Linked DNA regions of Homo sapiens: regions 1 and 3 are each linked to region 2. The links are contacts of gene promoters, found by promoter capture Hi-C in blood cells and fetal thymus (Javierre and others, 2016). All regions are on one chromosome and are shown on one strand. The core of a region is centred on a gene start or on the middle of the fragment in contact, and the rest is flanking DNA. Distances in the headings are between cores, read along the strand shown.

Region 1 (4,686 bases), core at 1,946-4,445, 450 kb before region 2:
CAATTAAGCATCAAAAACGTCCTGCTGAGCCTGGAATTTGAAGTAAAGGAGAGGGTACCCCTAGCACATCATTGAATTTTGCAGTTTGAGTGTGCCAAGCACTTTACAGAGAGTGATGCAATAAAGAAATCAGAAACTATATATACGTGTGTGTGTGCGCGCGCGCGCGCATGTGCGTGCACCCTGTTGAAGAAGCTGGCTTGGGAGAGGAAAGATGACAACGCTGTTAATCTACCCTTAGCTCAGCTTAGTTCATCAGAATCGCTGGGGACTGAGACTCTGCTGCCTACACTTCCTGCCGTTCATTCTCTTTTCTGCTTCTTCCCATTTTTCCGGCTCCTTTTTCTTTCTGCGATCCCTGACTTTCTCTCCCAAAGCTTTATTCCCACCCTTGGCTGTTGCCCTGCACCCACACCTTCCACCTCAGCTTGGCCTTCTCCAGGGACCATGTCTTTGATTCTTTGGCCATCGCCATGGGGCTAGCACACGGCCTCTTCTTCCTGAGCTTCTCTTTTCCCACGTCTCAGTGCTGTCTGAGTTTACTCCTCCTCCTCCAACATGCTCCTCCTGAGCATGTTGCCCACCTCAGTCCATAATCTGTGTCCCTCCGCAAAAGCCTTCTACGCCCAGGGGCTCGGGCCCTTCTTGGGGAGATCTGCCTGAGGAAGGGAGGGCAGAAATCAAGTCATGGTTTAGGGGAGCTGGCTGCCACGGACTGGGACCATTGAAAGCTTGCCCACGAGTGGGAGGCTTTTGGCTACAAAAGCCCCATTCATCTAATACATTTTACAGACACCCTGGAGGGCTATGAGCACCTCTTACCCAGACACCCAACTCCACGGGAGAGAGAATCTCAGTCAGCCCTAAATAGCAGATTTAATTCCTTCAGATTAACCACAAATTCGGTTTGTATCCCACATGCAAATGAGCTTCCTGTAGCCTCTCTGCACAACGACCGTCATGCACAAAGACCAGAAGGGGTAACCTCAGGAAAAGTGTATTTCATCTTCCTCCTGTGCCTAATTCCTGAGCTCCTTTCTCTCTAATCATGTTTATTCTAATGTAAGAAGATGGCAAATGTCAGAATGTCATGAGATGAATCTATGATCTAATTTATTTTTTCAGGGAAAAAAAATGGGACCTGAAACACCTATTTAAGTCAGGTGTTCTGAAAATGATTAAATAAGAGGAACAAGAGGACGAACTAAGTGTAAAATACAGCTCAAGAGGCCTGGTGCCGCGGAGTCAACCTGCTTATTACGCTGTACGATGTGAATAATTTATCACGTTTTACCCTGCATTAAGTACCACTGAGGATTAATCTGCAGTTTATTTGCAAACCATATTAACCCCTGCCTGCCTCATTCTGCCGTCTCCTAGGGGAGGTTTGTGGAAAATCTCTCTGCTGCTCTTGTGCCACATAAGCAAGGACTGGACAGCAGAAACTAACCAGCCTAACTAACTAGCTCCCTTCTGGGAATGCATCTGGGAACATCAAGTCCCCATGTTGTCTGCTTCTGGGGCATTCTTCCCCTCGTAACCTTCCTGTGTTCCTACTCAGGCTGCCCCCTCCTATTGCCACGTCCCTTCCATTTCACTTCTTATGTATTTATTTATTTTTATTTTTTGAGACAGGATCTTGCTCTGTCGCCAGGCTGGAGTGTAGTGGTGCGATCTCAGCTCACTGCAACCTCCACCTCTGGGTTCCAGCAATCCTCCTGCCTCAGGCTCCTGAGTAGCTGGGATTATAGACGCCTGCCACCATGCCTGGCTAATTTTTGTATTTTTAGTAGAGACGGGGTTTCACCAAGTTGGCCAGGATGGTCTCGATCTCTTGACCTCATGATCCGCCCTCCTTGGCCTCCCAAAGTGCTGGGATTAACAGGCGTCAGCCACCGCGCCCGGCTATTTATTTTTTGAGAAGGAGTCTCACTCTGTCGCCCAGGCTGGAGTGCAGTGGCACGATCTCGGCTCACTGCAACCTCCACCTCCCAGGTTCAAGAGATTCTCCTGCCTCAGACTCCCAAGTAGCTGGGATTACAGGCGCCCACCACTATGTCCAGCTAATTTTTTGTATTTTTTTTTTTTAGTAGGGACAGGGTTTCACCATGTTTGTCAGGCTGGTCTCAAACTCCTGACCTTGTGATCTGCCCACCTCGGCCTCCCAAAGTGCTAGGATTATAGGCATGAGGCACTGTGCCCGGCCTTATTTATTCTTTTCTTTCTTTTCTTTTTCTTTTTTTTTTTTTGAGATGGAGTCTTGTTCTGTCCCCCAGGCTGGAGTGCAGTGGTGCTATCTCGGCTCACCACAACCTCCGCCTCCCAGGTTCAAGTGAGTCTCCTGCCTCAGCCTCCCGAGTAGCTGGGACTATAGGCGCACGCCATCACACCTGGCTAATTTTTGTATTTTTAGTAGAGACAGTGTTTCACCATGTTGGCCAGGCTGGTCTCAAACTCCTGACCTCAGGTGATCCATCTGCCTTGGCCTCCCAGTGTGCTGGGATTACAGGAGTGAGCCACCATACCGGGCCTGTTCTTTTATTTCTATGCCATACACGGCTAGGCTAGGTCCTTACATCTCATGCGGGACTCACAGCCAAAACCTCCTAACTGACCTTCCTGACTGGTCCTCCCCCATCCTCCAGTTTATTCTATATATGACTAATGTTCCTAAAATCCTATTTTCACCCAAACTTTCTTTGGCATGGAAGCCTCCTGCTGGGTCCTGCTCAGGGACACAGATCTGCTTCCTTCGCCCAGCACTTACGCCTCCTTTGATCCGGCACCACCATCTCTCCATCCTCACCTCCTACTCCTCCTTTCCAGACACCCTCCCTTTGAGCAGACCAACCCCGGGCCTCCCTGAACAGCCAGACTTGCTCCCATTGCCTTAGGCTTTGTCTCTGCCCTCCTCTCCGAGGGAAGTCTGCCTCTGCCCTCCCTGTGTCCAGCTCAGCTGAAAATCCCCACTGCCCGTGAACTCCTGACCACACAGGGCTTTCCCTTCCTCCAGCACCTCCTGGCCACTCTGTTCGTTGCGGAGTACCTTTGGAGCTGGGACTCTAGGGTGTCTGCCTGGGAGAAACTTAGAAACAGCAATCTGGTTGGAAGCAGGGCCAGGGACTTGTCTCAAAGCTGTGGTAGAATTCAACTGATTTATCTTATTTTTATTTTTTGAGATGGAGTCTTGCTCTGTCACCCAGGCTGGAGTGCAGTGGTGCCATCTTGGCTCACTGCAACCTCTGCTTCCTGGGTTCAAGCGATTCTCGTGCCTCAGCCTCTAGAGTAGCTGGAATTACAGGCGCCTGCCACCATGCACAGCTAACTTTTGTATTTTTAGTAGAGACGGGGTTTCACTGTCTTGGCCAGGCTGGTGTCGAACTCCTGAACTCAGGTGATCCACCTGCCTTGGCCTCTCAAAGTGCTGGGATTACAGGCGTGAGCCACCACACTCGGCCTTCATCTGATGCTTTACAGTAATTTTTCTAAAGGGGCTTGTACTCACATTTTCCATAAGAGTAAGAAGACATCCCCCGCCCATGTCAAAAACATGATTTTTAGTTGTTTTTTTGAGGGGGGGAGGCGGGGGTGATTCATGAAGATGAGGGGCATAAAACATACCTCTCCAAGCCACTCCTTGGCACTGCCACTGCCCTTGCACTATTCAAGGAAGTGGAACAGACATGCTGAAACAAGTCCTTTGCATATAAAAGCATGATATACAAAGTGCAACTCCCAGGTGTCAGAATTATTTGCAGAGAGGCCAGGCGCGGTGGCTCACACCTGTAATCCCAACACTTTGGGAGGCCAAGGCGAGTGGATCGCTTGAGGTCAGGAGTTCGAGACCAGCCTGGCCAACATGGTGAAACCCTGTCTCTACTAAAAATATAAAAATTAGCTGGGCCTGGTGGCTTGCATCTGTACTCCCAGCTACTTGGGATGCTGAGGCAGGAGAAATGCTTGAACCCAGGAGACAGAGGTTGCCGTGAACTGAGATCATGCCACTGCACTCCAGCCTGGGTGACAGAGCAAGACTCCATCTCAAAAAAAAAAAAAAAGAATTATTTGCAGAGTTATAAGAGTCCAAGTTTTTGACTCATTTATTTGCCTCACATTCTGCCATGTTATTTGATATTCCAGACATCTTAGGAGGTCTCCGCCTGTGCTTTCCCAGTGCAGCAACCCTCTGGGATTAGCGGGCAAGCTCATTAGGAATGTGCAGCCCTCTGCCCCTCCCACTTCTCCAACTGATCCTGTACCAGGTCCTCTAGGGCCTCCTCCGCTGCATTCTCCTCCTCACCTTGAGGTAGAGGTCGCCTGACTTTACAGGGCCACCCTCCCTTCTACTTCCTTTATTCCCACTTGAGACAATCTCAGACCTTATCTTATCCTCTAGATCCTCAAAATCATTTTTCCTTTGTCCATTTTCCAGTTGTGTCTCTTGCCTTAAATCTCTAACAACAAGGTAGCAATGAATGAAGGAATGAATGCCGCCTCTTGCGTCTCCTCACCTGCATCATAATATCAGCGTTGCCCACGTAGTGACCTTTCATGCACGTTGTCTCATATCAGCCCTGAGGTTCAGAGGGGTGAGGTGACCTGCCCCAGGTTAAGCAGCTGTAAATGGATCACCCTTTCCCAGGGACTTTTAGGCCACTTCAGAGCACCCCATGTTTCTAATTGAGC
Region 2 (4,679 bases), core at 1,184-3,683:
GCGACAGAAAAAGACTCTGTCTCAAAAACAAGCAAACAAAAATGCAAAGGCTGGATGAATGAGGTAAGATATAATGTAAACAGTTTTCCTGGAGTGCAGCTGGTCACAACACATCTCTAAAATCTTGTCTAGCCTACGCTACTGTCCAGTGAGGTTAGTGCAGGCATCATACCCAGGCCCTGAAGGATCCCACTCTGTGACACCCTTGCCTCCTTCCAAGCCTCCTTTGAATCCACTGCTGATCTCCTCTGCCCAATAAAACCCCCCTTCTCAGGCCGGGCGCAGTGGCTCACGCCTGTAATCCCAGCATTTTGGGAGGCCGAAGCAGGCGGATCACCTGAGGTCGGGAGTTGGAGACCAGCCTGGCCAACATGGTGAAACCCCGCCTCTACTAAAAATACAAAATCAGCCGGGCGTGGCAGCGCATGCCTGTAATCCCAGCTACTCTGGAGGCTGAGGCAGGATAATCGCTTGAACCCCAGAGGCAGAGGCTGCGGTGAGCCGAGATCGCACCATTGCATTCCAGCCTGGGCAACAAGAGCGAAACTCCGTCTCAAATAAATAAATACATAAAAATAAATAACAAAAAACAAAAACCCTTCTCCACCAATCCCTGTCAGCAAGCAGCCCGCCTGCCTCCAGGAAAAGGAACTCAGCTTTCCTCTGGGCCAAGAATGCCATCCTTACGTGAAAAAATGCTTGCCATCACTTAAGGCCCATCTCAAGTGTCACCTGCAAATAATGCTTTCAGCCGACAGCCTCTTCTTTTCTCTGACACACCCCGCCCCCATCATTGCCCTTGTCTGTCTCCCGAGGGAGCTCAGGATGGCAAGGCCTAAGTCTGATGCACGTAAGTTCCTAACTCCACCCTGTACCTGGCTCAGGGCTCCCTGACAAGCCCCAGCAAATGTTTCCCTCACTTAATGAAGTTGGAGGCACACATCCCTCCCCGGCATTGCCCAGCTCTCTTCTATCACGTTCCCGTCCCTCACAAGGGCAGCCAACACTGCCCCTTGACCTGAGGCCCACCCTCGATCCCTCCCCTTGGGTACCTGGCTGACAGGGCCCCCAGGGTGGCGCCAGTAGCCTCCAGCCAGGCCTAGGCGGGGGAGCACCTGCTGGGTGTTTCTTAGCTTGCTCTCCCTCCCTCGCTTCGCTCCCCTCAGCCGCCGCCATCCGTGCCCGGCGCTCCGCGCAGCTGCGGCCCAGGCCCAGAGAAAAGGTGTATGTCTCCCTGGCAACCCATCACCACGCAACAGGGTCTCCCGGGATACGGCCCGGGATGCGCTGACGTCAGCGCGGAAGGCGCGAGCTCTCCGCCTGCTGGCACAGCGCCGAGCAGAGCAGACCGGCACGGGGGCGGCCTCCCGGCCCGCCGCCGGATAGCGCCTCCGCCCGCCGGAAAAGGGAGCCAGAAGCTGGCTGGCCAGGCGTGGGTGGGGGCTGCAGATCCCCTTTATATGGATGACGTCCTCCTTCCCCCCACCACCAGGGGCCCAGCACCTCTGGCAAGTCCTGACTGTCCACCGAGGAAGGGCGGGAGGACCTGCTCCAGCCTCGGAGGGTTCGAGCAGATCCCAAAGAGGATAGAGAGAGACCCCGAGGAAGTTCGATCCACTCCACAGCCCAAGCGGGGTCCGAGGACACTGAGAGGAAGGGGAAAGGCTGTTGAGCTGTGCCCCTACTTCTGCAGAGATCCCCATTTTCATCCAGTATTGCCGTATCATTTCTCGGCCCCTCCCCCACCTTCCAGAAGACCAGCGCCCACTGAGTGCTCTCCTCAACTCTAAAAGCCCCCATCCCACACATCACTGACCCTCGGGCCCCTGGGGCCATTCTGTGGCAGCCCACTTGCCACCTTCCTGCTCTGGATAAATTTTGCCTCAAAACCCTAGGGTGAAACCAAACAATGATAAATTCTGACTCTCCTTCCCGTTTCCCAGCCTACCCATTCCTCTTGGAAAGCACACTGAGTTCTTCCGCCATCACTGTCCCCCCCACCACCGCCACCCTGGACCCTTTGCAGGAGGGTTGCCTTCCTTCTCTCTTCCTGCTGCCTTCTTTCCTCTCGCCAGCCTCAGCTGGTCCACAGCTCTTTACTCTTCTTTTCTGACGAACTCATGATATTTTTTCTGATTTTCACCCCTGTCCCCTGAAGCCGTTTCCTGATGCCCTGTCTGGCCCCAGCCTGGTTCTCCCTGTTTCAGCCTGGTTCTTAATATCTAAGCCAGAGTAATTTTCCTTTTCCACCTAAGCACCCTACTGCTCAGCTTCCCATCATCTCCCAGATCACATCCATGATCCCTGGTCTCACCTCTGCGACTTGTCTGACAAGTCCATCGTCCTCCAGGCCCTTCACGCTGCCACAGAAACATTTTGCCCAGCACAGAAATCATAGGCATGCTGGCTGTGTTGATGCAGAGAACCAAAAGCCCAGAACCGCTCCAGGCTCAGCTCCCAGTTCTATTCCTGTTTTGGCTCCGGATGCTGAGCCAGTCCCCTCCCCATTTGGAACCTGTGCCTAGTCACATAAGGAGAACATTCCTGCCTCATGGCTCTGAGGAGGTGGGAACACCAGGGCTCAGCCAAGCTCTCTGGGACTCGGGGAGCTGAGGCCCATTCCCTAGACAGTGCCAACAGGCAATGTACATCACAACTGACCTTTAGCTGGAGCAGCCGTCTCTATCCCTGAGCCTCGGCCAGCTGTTGGTCCCCAGAAATGCTACCAACCAGAAGGAAAACAGGAGGTTACAGGCCATCCCTGGCCCCCAACTGGTACCTAACCAGGGCTCTCGAGGCCAGTCCTGAGGTCAGCCAAACTCACCCCTGACAAGAGAAGGTGATGACTTCCTGAACTCCAAGCCTTGATAGGGCCAGAGAGATCAGAGCAGTCAGCTGCTCCTCAGCTTCAAAAGCCACGAGGTTAACTTAGGACTACAAATCCCAGAATTCCTCAAGGGAAGTACAAATCTCAGCCAGTCTTAGCTCCAAAGAACATCAAGTACCAACCACACCAAGGCCTGTGTGACTGACCACCTGCCCTGAAGGTCCAGGACCCATCCCAAACCCAGTCCTGCCTTGCCTTATGCGTGGAGAAATCCACCACACCGGAGTAAAGGAAGCTGGCCGACCTCTGATGCACAGGACTACGGCCAGGCCCGGTGTGCATGGCCACCCACGGAAACCGAGGCCCAGGCAGGGGTCAGCACTGTGGGAAGGAAGCCCTGATGGCCTGCCTCTGGGTTCCTCTTTCCCTCCACAGAGTAGAGTGATTTGTTTTTGCTGAGTGGGGGCAGGACATTAAAACAACTGTAATAGGTGAGAGGTGATTCAGTGTTCACAGGTGCCCCAAACGGGACCTCAGTCCCCCTTCGCCGACTGACTGAAGAGGGGAGTCAATGTCCGACAAAAATTCTGTGGTAGGGTGCTTAGCCAGGACCGAAAGGCTACCTCTTTAAGAAGATGGGGACACGGCTGGGAGAAGCAGGTTCCCAGCACAGGGCCACTCCCAGGACTGTGAAGGCAGAGGTGTAGGCGGAGGGGAGTGTGTGTGTGGGCGCGCAAGGCCAGTCGCCGAGGGCTGGAGTGGTGGGGGCATCGGGCTGCCCAGCCCCTCCCGGGGCTGTGCGTCTCCGGCCACCCTGAGCAGTGGGCACACGGCAGCCAGCGGCGAGACCATGCGTCTGCCCTGCAAAACCCCAAGGCAGGCAGGCCGTGGGAGCGAACCGGAGTCGGTCTGGCCCCTTCCCTGCTCATTCCCGCTCCCTCCTGTTGCCTGGCCCGCCTCCCGGTGCAGGCTCCTCCCTCTCCCGACACCGGCCCCCTCCTCAAGGCCCCCACCCACCCGCGGCCCGCGCACCGGCGGCCGCAGCCCGACTCCCCAACCCGTACCCGGCCTCCGCCTCTTACCCTGACCCGCCGGGCTCCGAGAGCCGATACAGCCCATGGCCGGGCACCCAGGCACGCTAGCCTGCGCTCGGGGCGCGGGCCATCGCCTTGCAGAGGGTAGGGTCGCGGCCACACTGGGGAGGGGAGAGCCCGTGAGAGGGGAGGGGTGGGAGCCGCGCGTCCGCCGCCGCTCCCCGGAGAGGGAACCGGGCCGGTGACGTAAGCGCGGGGGCGTGACCGCCGCGTCACCACCCAAAGTAGGCGGGGCGCAGCGACGTCACAGCCACGCAGAGGCGGCCTGGACCGGGTTCGAAAATGCCGGTCCTCTCCTCCCAGAGCCGACTGCCACCTGAAGGCAGGGGCGGCGAACACTCACTAAGCCAGCCCAGTCACACTACACGGGGTCGCAAAACCTCCCTTCATGCATCCAGCCCCTTCATTTTACAGATGACACCTTCAAGCCATAAAGGGATTCTCCAGCTATAAACAACCCGAAACCCAAAAGCCTTCCCCACACAGGGGCTTGAATCATTCTGGTAGGAGAGCAGAGCCTAGCAAGGATGTCCTATCACTAATCTCCCTTTTCTCCGGACCAGGAAGGCACCTATCAAGCCCATCTGAGGGCCCAACCTTCCAGGAAACCTCAGATCCCTGCAATCATGGACAGGGGAAGAGGCAGGAGGGGTGCCAGGTTACAGGGAACAGCGCTACAGTACCAGCTCTGGGAAGGATCCCCACCTATAAACACCTTCTCTAGAGGGAGCAGGGCATAAAGCAGAAAGGCAGTGAGC
Region 3 (4,199 bases), core at 1,234-3,733, 440 kb after region 2:
CGATCCGCCCTGATTGGCCTCCCAAAGTGCTGGGATTACAGGTGTGAGCCACTGCGACCAGCCAGCATCTGCTGCTCCATTTCTGCATTCTTTATTGGTTTCTGTTTAGAATGCAGGCTTCAAACTCGCTAAGCTTTTTTTTTTTTTTTTAATTTCAAGCTTTTTCTTTGGTCAGAATCAAGAATTCTGTAGTCAGCCCTCTGGTCTCTACAGGGATAGCTGGTTTAATTTTGTGGTATTTGGTAAATGAGCCCTGGGGTATGAGGCCTTCCCCGGAATCCCAGAGCTGAGTGTTCTAGGGCTGGGGACCATAACCGACCCCATCCTGGCTCCACTTTGGCCTCCTTATGCTGTTTCCGGTCAGCCCAGGGCCCACATGGTAAGGAGCAGATGTTACCCTGCTCCCATCTGCTTGGTCTGATTCTCTTTCTAATCACTCACTTCTCCTTTGAGATAGAGTGAGGGCTGAGGTGAGGGTGAGAGGGAAGATTTGGGTTTGGGTTTGGGGGAAGGTGAGGGTTGGGGTTAGGTTGAAGGTTAGAGTTGGGCTTATGGTTCATGTTTTCCTCTCCCCAACCCTAAAGAGTGAAGCTTGCTGTCTCCTCTCTGTCTTTCCATCACTCAGTTCCTCTTTCTCTGCTTGTTTGCCATTCCATTTCTCCTCGTTCTGTCTCTTCCTCTTAACACCCACGTGTGCACACATCCCCTGCCCCAGTGTGTATTGTCCTGGGCTGTCCTTGGCCCCTTCCAGACATGCCCCCAGCTGTTGGCCTTCTCTGTAGGAGGCAATGGCTTCATGTCCCTAGACGTGGCTGGGAGTCTTCAGGACAAAGCTGGGCAGTCCTTAGCCAGGAGGGTGTCCTGCTCAGCTCCTTCACTGATGTGAGCCTGGAGGAAGGGCAGCCTGAGGGCCGGCTGCTGAGTCTCCTCAAGGCCCCTGGACTACTCCCACCAACACACTGGGTATTCTCCAAGCTCACTGTGGCTCAGTGTCAGGGCTGGGTACTGGGTACCATCTGAGGCTCCCTGAGCCACACCAGCATCTCTCTGCAGGGCACCATCATCTTACCCAACCTGGCCTCTGTGCTCTATGACCCTGAGTGCTGGGAGACCCCTCGACAGTTCAACCCTGGCCACTTCTCGGACAAGGATGGAAACTTTGTGGCCAATGAGGCCTTCCTGCCATTCTCTGCAGGTACTAGGCACAGAGCTGGATCCTGGGTGGTGGGTGGGGCTGTGGTGGGACAGACACAGGGACAGCTGCCACCTCTGACTTTTCTCTCTGTTTCCAGGGCATCGTGTCTACCCAGCAGACCAGCTGGCTCAAATGGAGCTCTTCCTGATGTTTGCCACCCTCCTCAGGACCTTTCGGTTCCAACTGCCAGAAGGGAGCCCGGGGCTCAAGCTGGAGTACATCTTTGGCGGCACTTGGCAACCCCAGCCCCAGGAGATCTGCGCAGTGCCCCGCCTGAGCAGCCCCAGCCCTGGTCCTAGGGAGGATGGCCTGTAGCCACTGGGGGTCTGGAGGCCTGTCCCCCATGAAGTCCTTCCTCAGTCTCTTTTGGTTCCTGCAAAGTTAGAAAAGAGGAGGACCAGGGGTTCATGCAGCTCAGCTGCTCATGGTTGCCCCTAACACAAGCTCTGTGGGGTGACACTGGAGAATAGACTTAGCAAGGATTCTACAGAGGTAGCTCAGTTTGGGTAGTTCAATTCTTAAATTAGGTTAGTTATGCTTTGGCAGGCGAAGATTTTATAAGATTGGTTAAGTTTGGCATTAAATCAGTCCACAAAGTTAATATTGGGGAATCAAGCCTCACAAGGCAGCAGCTAACTAGGTTCAGAGGAAAAGGCAAACTTTCGAGCAAAACTATGAATATAATAATGCATGCAAATGCGAATACTCTAGATGCCGGGGACTGGTAAACCAAAAAAAAAAAAAAAAAAAAAAAAAGTGAAGCGGGGGCAGCTTATTTTCTGCCTTCTCCTGCCCTCTCCTGACCAGAAGGAAGAACTGCAGTTCTCTGCAGACCTGGGGCAGAGAAAGATCTCACCATCTCAATACAGCAAAGCCAGCAGACCATATAACTGTTTCCAGCAAATTCTTCACCAAAGACCCACTTTAGTTTCCACACAAGGGTCCCTAAATTTTGAATCCTTGCATCTCCAGACAAGCCTTGTTTATTAAAAAAGAATGACTTGTGGCTGGGCATGGTGGCTCACACCTGTAATCCCAGCACTTTGGGAGACCGAGGCAGGTGGATCACTTGAGGTCAGAAGTTCAAGACCAACCTGGCAAACATGGTGAAACCCCATCTCTACTAAAAATACAAAAATTACCCGGGCATGGTGGCAGGCACCTGTAATCCCAGCTACTCGGGAGGCTGAGGCAGGAGAATCGCTTGAACCCAGAAGGCAGAGGTTGCAGTGAGCCAAGATCGCACCACTGCTCTCCAGCCTGGGATCCAAGAGTGAAACTGTCTCAAAAACAAACAAACAAACAAACAAACAAACAAAAGCAAAAACAAAGAATGACTTGTGAGTTCCTGGAGGCAGAGGTTGCAGTGGGCGGAGATTATACCACTACAGTCCAACCTGGGTGACAGAGCGAGACTCTGTCTCAGAAAAAAAAAGACTGACTTGCATCAAGGAAATGCAAACTAAAATCAAATGAAATACCATTACATACCGATTAGAACTGCTAAAAAGAAAACCCTGACAATCCCAAGTACTGGAAAAGATGCGAAGCAAATGGAATTCTCATACCCTGCAGGTGGAAATGTAAAAAGGTACGACTACATTGGAAAACAGTTTGGCAATTTCTTGTAAAATTAAACATTACACCACACAACCCAGCAGTCCCAATCTTAGGTATTACCCAAAAGAAATGAAAATATATGTTCACACAAATGCATATCTATGAATTATATGATTCCATTTCTGTGATATTCTTAAAAAGGCAAACCTATAGGGACAGAAAATATTCCATAGATAAGTGGCTGCCAGGATTCGGGAGCAGGGTTATAGGTTGACTGTAAAAAGACATGAGGAAACTTTCTGGGGTAATAGAAATGTTCTGTATCTTGATTGTGGTGATGGTTACACAACTGTATGTGTTTGTCAAAACTCATACAACTGTACACTTAAATGAGTGTTATTGTATATAAGCCATGCCTCAATAAATCTGAGCTTTAAAAAGGAAATGCCTCGGGCCGGACACGTTGGCTCACGCCAGTAATCCTAGCATTTTGAGAGGCCAAGGCGGGCAGATCACCGGAGGTCAGGAGTTCAAGACCAGTCTGGCAAACATGGTGAAGCCCTGTCTACTAAAAATACAAAAAAGTTAACTGGGTATGGTGGCACGTGCCTGTAATCCCAGTTATTCTGAAGGCTGAGGCAGGAGGATCGCTTGAACCTGGGAGGCGGAGGTTGTAGTAAGCAGAGATTGCACCACTGCACTACAGCCTGGGAGACAGAATGAGACTCCATCTCAAAAAAAAAAAGGAAATGCCTTACCTCTCTCTTTTGTGTTATTTAAAGGACGTACATATGAATGAACCAATGTTTCTAATTAGTAGGAGATCAATCATTACTGCTACACCAGGCTGAAAGGAGTCTAACCAGAAATAAAACATGACGTATTGGCCAGGCTTAATGGCTTGCGCCTGTAATCCCAGCACTTTGGAAGGCTGAGGTGGGTGGATCACTTGAGGCCAGGAGTTCAAGATCAGCCTGGGCAACATGGTTAAACCCCCATCTCTACTAAAAATACAAAAATTAGCCGGGCGTGGTGGTGCACACCATAGTCTCAGCTACTTGGGTGACTGAGGCAGGAGAATCGCTTGAACCCAGGAGGCGAAGATTGCAGTGAGCAGAGATCGCGCCACTGCACTTCAGCCTGGCTGACAGAGTAAGACCCTGTCTCATAACAAAACCTAACAAAAAACAAAAACCATGATGTGTGAATTAGCCTCTGGCCTTTCTTCAGGCTTTGTGAAATCCTGGAGCTTTCTCATAGATATCTTATTTTCTGTGCGGTGCCATATCCAGGGCCTCGGGAGTCCAGACTGGGAAGCACTAGGCAAGTGGGGTCCCAGAGAGCAGGAGACAGCCTGGGGTTCTCGGCCCTGGGAGGTCCCACCCTGAGCTGGCAGCTCTCTGTGATCCAGGCAGGATCTGGGGCAGAGAAAACAAAGCCAGGC

The links. The method cuts DNA at HindIII sites, captures the fragments that hold promoters and counts their contacts. A CHiCAGO score of 5 or more calls a contact.
Region 1: a fragment that was not itself captured here is called in contact with the fragment with the promoter of FAM131A in region 2 in 7 of 17 cell types (naive B cells, M1 macrophages, M2 macrophages and 4 more); the score reaches 6.7 in naive B cells.
Region 3: a fragment that was not itself captured here is called in contact with the fragment with the promoter of FAM131A in region 2 in 2 of 17 cell types (M0 macrophages and M1 macrophages); the score reaches 6.4 in M0 macrophages.

Annotation. Positions count from the first base shown.
Region 1 is chr3:184,781,513-184,786,198 of GRCh38, reverse strand. No RefSeq gene overlaps it. Among named protein-coding and RNA genes, the nearest start is that of LINC02069, 11 kb to the right of the region's middle. RefSeq lists an enhancer at 4,590-4,686. The HindIII fragment of the contact is 4,924 bases long and covers 734-4,686 here.
Region 2 is chr3:184,335,354-184,340,032 of GRCh38, reverse strand. It overlaps FAM131A (family with sequence similarity 131 member A), which reads right to left and starts at 2,433. Exons shown (of 6, transcript NM_144635.5): 1 at 2,315-2,433; 2 at 1,504-1,646. The coding sequence starts at 2,402. It also overlaps a transcript of EIF4G1 not described here. RefSeq lists an enhancer at 1,280-1,891 and silencers at 3,690-3,759, 3,683-3,883, 3,800-4,229. The HindIII fragment of the contact is 18,780 bases long and covers 1-4,679 here.
Region 3 is chr3:183,893,211-183,897,409 of GRCh38, reverse strand. It overlaps the pseudogene CYP2AB1P. Among named protein-coding and RNA genes, the nearest start is that of MIR4448, 8.5 kb to the right of the region's middle. The HindIII fragment of the contact is 3,780 bases long and covers 594-4,199 here.